Regions from separate parts of the Homo sapiens genome. Here region 2 is linked to region 1. Evidence: promoter capture Hi-C in 16 types of primary human blood cells and fetal thymus (Javierre and others, 2016). All regions are on one chromosome and are shown on one strand. Each heading gives the region's core, a stretch centred on a gene start or on the middle of the fragment in contact. The rest is flanking DNA. Distances are from core to core; before and after follow the strand shown. Region 1 holds the start of FBXO11 (F-box protein 11). Region 2 has its middle 6.0 kb from the start of FOXN2.

Region 1 (2,542 bases), core at 1-2,500:
AAACCAAACAAAGCGCGGCCTGAGCGAGAGCCCAGGCGAGAAGGGAAGCCGCGGCTTTTCCTGCCGGCCGGGCCCGGCCCGGGCTGACACTGCGGCACCGGGGGACCCGCCTCCGCTCAGCTTGGGTCTCCCACCCCCAGGGCGCGCAGGCCGCCCCCGCCCGCCCGCCCGCCCGCCCGCCCCGGCCTCCCTTCCCGCGGTGCCCGGGAAGGCGGGCGGTTGGGAGGTAGCGCGGCCTTACCCCGCTCGCCGACGTTGTTCCGCTCCTGAGGCAGCGGCGGAGGCGGCGGTGGCGGCGGCGGAGGCTGCTGCTGCTGCTGCTGCTGCGGCGGCGGCGGAGGCTGCTGCTGGGGCGGCTGCTGCTGGGGCGGCTGCGGCGGCGGCTGCTGCGGGGGCTGCTGCTGCTGTTGCTGCACCGGGCGCGGCCGCGACACTCGCCTGGGTCTCCGGTTGGCGGCTCGGACGGAGTTCATTTGCCGGGCTGAGGTGGCGGCGTTGGCGGAGGGACACACACACGCACACGCACAGCGAGCTTCGGGGCAGGAGAAAGGGGTGGGGAGAGTGGGAGAGGGGGGAGGAAGGAGAGGGGGCGAGGGGAAGGGGAGACGCTGAGGGCGGAGGGGGCGAGCGGGACCCCGAGTCCGGAGAAAGGCCCGGGTAGACAGACGGAGACCGAGCGAGGCCGGCCGGGAGGGCCTGACGCACGGGGAAGGCCGAAGCCGCCGGGCGGGGCGGCCGCGAGGGACGAAGGCAGAAAGACGGGCAGACCGAGAGAAAGAAAGAAAGGGCGTCCGCCGCTTGGGGATCCCGAGGCGAAGCGCGGCGGCGGCGGCGGCGGCGGCTGAAGAGACAGATCCCGGTCCCGCCGACTCGCGAGCGGCGTCTCCGGCAGCGGGGGGAGTGGGCGGGCGGGTGAGGAAGGGAGAAAAAGAGAGGGAGAGAAGGGAGGGAGGGAGCAGGGGGCGCCCGGCTCTTTTTTTTCCCTCTTCCTCCCCCCCACACCCCCTGAAAGAGATTTCTGTGAGGAATTTTTCTCTCTTTCTTCGGTCTCTTCTCTCTCCTCCCCCCCTTCTCTCCTCGGCGAAGGGGAAATGAGTGTGAAGGGAGGAGATAGGGGGAAAAAGAGGCGTCGTCCTTCCTCCTCCTTAAAGGAACCTTTCCTCCTCCTCCTCGTCAGCCCTGTCGCCGCTGCTTCTGCTGCTGCTCCGTGGCAGGAGGAGCCATTGACACCGCCGGAGCCTCCACTCGCCCAGTCGGTCCCTCCCCGCCGCGGGGCTGGCCGGGGGCGCGGGGGAGGGCCGCGGGGCGGCGGGGGGAGGGGTGGGTGGGCGGGGAAAGGAGGGGCGGGGATTCCGTCCAGGCGGCCAATCTAAGGCGCCCGTACAACCTTCCGGCCAATGGGGCCTCCGCTCTTATCGCGAAGTCCCTTCAACGCCCTGTTTCCTCTCTCGGGTTTCCTCCCTCCCCCGCCTAGGAGGGGGAAAGAGGAAAGGGGGAGTGTGGCGGGGCGGGTGATAATGGGGAGGTATCAGGGCAAATAATAGAGCAGGGGGTGGGCGAAGAGAGCGCCAGTGCGTAGCGACGATTCTGGGAGAGGAGGTGCTCGGAGGAAAGGGCGGGGGTTGCTGATGTAATGGGGAGAAGTGATTAATCCTTCGGTTCGCCGTTTCAGCTTCCCCCCTACCCCAACCTTCACCCGATTTTTTTGAGCTGAAAAAAAAGTGGAACGAGGGAGCCAATCTTTGGTAACTCGGGTTTTCTGTGGTAGGTGGGTTCAAAATCTGAGCTGTAGGGAGCGCTAGAGATTTCGTGCCCTTTAGCCAAGCTGAGGGTATTTGCAAACCCTGAAGATTTCCGTCTCCGAGCTTTGGGCTTGGTAAGCGAAGTTTGGAGTCGGTGCCTAATCGTATATCATCTAAACCTTGAAAAGGCTTTGACCTTTGGCCAATTTGATTTGTTCTTTGAAGAAGTGTATACAATGTGTGGGAAAATAATATGTGAGAGGAGAGAAGTAAATGTGTTGATGTTGTGATTGTTTATGTGATTTAATTTTTAATTTTTTTTTTTTAGGTCCCACAAACTGCAAGGAAAAGAAAAACCCTCAACAGGAATTACCTTTATACCTGATGCCCCCAACATAATCTCTCTCCAAGGGAAACGTGTTTTTATTGCCTTGCGGCTGAAAATGTATTCTCGATTCTCCCCCTTCTCTCTTTTGTTGTGCATTTTTTGGATGTGGTAAAACTGGCAGTTTATCTGATTATCTGGTTTTCAGAACTTTGGGCGATGTCTCTGAGTGTCATCAGTTGCTCTCTAGGTTTGACATAGATAATTAAGCAACTACAAAGCGTGATAAAGCTTTTGAGAGGGAGGAAAATGTATTTTGGAAGGAGGGAGAGACGCAAAGAGGCGAGCCTGTGTGTTGAGTCCCAGACTTGGTGTGTGACTACAGGCAAAGTACTTCACCTTTCTAGATGTCAGCCCCGCCCCCCTCACCTCCCAAGTTTAAATAAGAACTTATTTTAGACTACATGATCCTGTT
Region 2 (2,542 bases), core at 17-2,516, 400 kb after region 1:
TTTAACTACTATTTTCATCTCTGTACTAAGTGCAGGGCCTGGAACATAGTCAGTAGTTAATATGTTTATTTAATGAATGAGGTAAAGGTACACAGTCTATCTGTAAAATAGGGATAGATTCTAAGCAGCCTGAAGGCTCAGGATCCTCTGATATCCTTACCAGCTTCATGAGCCAAAGCAGAAATAACATAAACTAATGAATTTCTTCATGTGTAAAGGACTGTAGAAAAGTATTCCATATGTCCTTATACTTAACTTTGCTAATAGCATTGTTCAGACCCATAGTCACTGAATTTTTTGTCTGCCTGTTTTATCAGTAACTGAATATGTTAACATCTCCTCCTAAAATTCTGGATTTTTTATTCCTCGTAGTTCTGTAATTTTTGCTTTATATATTTTGAGGTTATGTTATTGGAGGAATACAAATTTAGAATATTTTTATCTTCCTGGCAAATTAAGTCTTCATTATTATGAAGAGTCTCCCTTTCACTCCAGCAGTACTTTTCGTCTTTTTTTTTTTTTTTGAGACGGAGTCTCACTCTGTTGCCCAGGCTGGAGTACAGTGGCGTGATCTCGGCTCACTGCAAGCTCCAACTCCTGGGTTCATGCCATTCTCCTGCCTCAGCCTCCCGAGCAGCTGGGATTACAGGTGCCTGCCACCACACCTGGCTAATTTTTTTTGTATTTTTTAGTAGAGATGGGGTTTCACCGTGTTAGCCAGGATGGTCTCGATCTCCTGACCTCGTGATCCGCCCGCCTCGGCCTCCCAAAGTGCTGGGATTACAGGCGTGAGCCAACGTGCCCGGCCCCAGTACTTTTTGTCTTAGTATCTACTTAATTTAGCTATTCCAGCTTCCTTTTGGTAATTTTGCATGGTTTACTTTTTTTCTATTTTTTACTTTCAAACTTTCTGTATTTTTATGTTCTAGATTATGCCCCTTGTAAAGAGCGTGTGGTTATTTTTGCCCAGTGACAATCTGTGGTAGTTGGTTACATCAATTGGTGGCCCCAGGTTCATCCTACTTCCTAGTATTTACACCCTTATGTAGTTTCCTCCTCTTGACTCTAGGCCTGTTATTTCCTTTATCTGATAGAATGTAACAGAAGTGACAGTGTGTTAGTTCTAAACCTAATCTTCTTGGGAACTCTGAGCTTGCATGTAAGAAGTCGGCTATCTTTCTGTAGAGGCTACATGGATTGGCCATGTGGAACAGAAGTCCTAGAACTACTTGTAGAAAAACCAAAGAACCCAATCAATTGTGAGAACCAAGGCCCCACACATATGATATCAGTCAAGCTGTTCTAACCCCCGGCCATTGGAGCCATCCTAGCTAGGTGCTAGACATGTGAGTGAAGAAGCTATCTAGAACATTTCAGCCCCAGCGGACATCACCCAGAGAAGAGAGAGCCTTCTCCATTATGCCCTGTTGAAATTTCTGACCCACAGAATCTGGAAAAATAATAAAATGGTTTTGATTTTAAGCTACTACATTTTTTTTTTTGGAGATAGGGTCTTGCTATGTTGCCCAGGCTGGAGTACAGTGGCACCATCTGGGCTCACTGCAACCTCCACCTCCTGGTTCAAGTGATTCTTGTGCCTCATCCTCCTGAGTAGCTGGGACTACAGGTGGGTACAACCACGTTTGGCTAATTTTTTTGCATTTTTATTAGAGATGGGGTTTCACCATGTTAGCTAGGCTGGTCTCAAACTCCTGACCTCAAGTGATTCACCTGCTCAGCCTCCCAAAGTGCTGGGATTACAGGTGTGAGGCACCGTGCTGGGCCTAAGCTACTAAATTTTGGGGTAGTTTGTTATATAACAATAGGCAACAAAAACAATCTTTGTCATTAAATTATGATCTGTTTTCATTTAGTGTAATTAGTGATATATTTGGGTTTATGTCTACCATCTTATAACAACTTTCTATTTGCTCTATCATATGTTCTTATTTCTCTTCTATCTTGCATTTAGATTATTTTTTATTTCCTCACATGCTCAAATTAGATTGGAAATTGCATAGTGTCCTGGCTTATTTTATGAATCAACTTGCCAGTGCCACTGGTGGCCAAATGTTTGGTCAAACACTATTCTAAATGTTTCTGTGAAGGTGTTTTTTGGATGAGATTAACATTTAAATCTGTAGACTTTAATAAAGCAGATTACCTTCCATAAGGTGGGTAGATCTTATCCAATGCCTTAATAGAACAAAGATTTATCTCCCATGGGCAAGAAGGAATTCTGCTAGCCGACTGCTTTTGGACTCAAACTGCAACTCTTCTTTGTCTCTAGCCTGTTGTTCTACCTTACAGCTTTTAGGCTACTAAGCCTCCACTTCTGTTTCTCTGAAGAATCCTGACTAATACAGTTTCTTACTATTTTCTCAATGATTATTCTAAAGCTCATAAGATGTATTCTTGACTTACCAGAGTCTAATATTAACTATCACTTTTTCCATACTTCTAGAAAATGCACTGATTTTAGAACACTTGATTCCATTTACCTTCTCCTGACATATACCATTATTTCGTGTGTGTGTGTGTG

Evidence for each region. Contacts are between HindIII fragments. The CHiCAGO score rates a contact against its expected background, and 5 or more counts as called.
Region 2: a fragment that was not itself captured here is called in contact with the fragment with the promoter of FBXO11 in region 1 in 15 of 17 cell types (total CD4 T cells, total CD8 T cells, naive CD4 T cells and 12 more); the score reaches 18.1 in total CD4 T cells.

Annotation. Positions count from the first base shown.
Region 1 is chr2:47,905,248-47,907,789 of GRCh38, forward strand. It overlaps FBXO11 (F-box protein 11), which reads right to left and starts at 1,251. Exons shown (of 23, transcript NM_001190274.2): 1 at 242-1,251. The coding sequence starts at 473. LOC100506235 (a long non-coding RNA gene) reads left to right here and starts at 303. Exons shown (of 2, transcript NR_187636.1): 1 at 303-552; 2 at 2,071-2,542. RefSeq lists silencers at 24-73, 84-203, 564-753, 1,244-1,343 and an enhancer at 1,413-2,197. The HindIII fragment of the contact is 3,894 bases long and covers 1-2,356 here.
Region 2 is chr2:48,307,368-48,309,909 of GRCh38, forward strand. No RefSeq gene overlaps it. Among named protein-coding and RNA genes, the nearest start is that of FOXN2, 6.0 kb to the right of the region's middle. The HindIII fragment of the contact is 6,909 bases long and covers 1-2,542 here.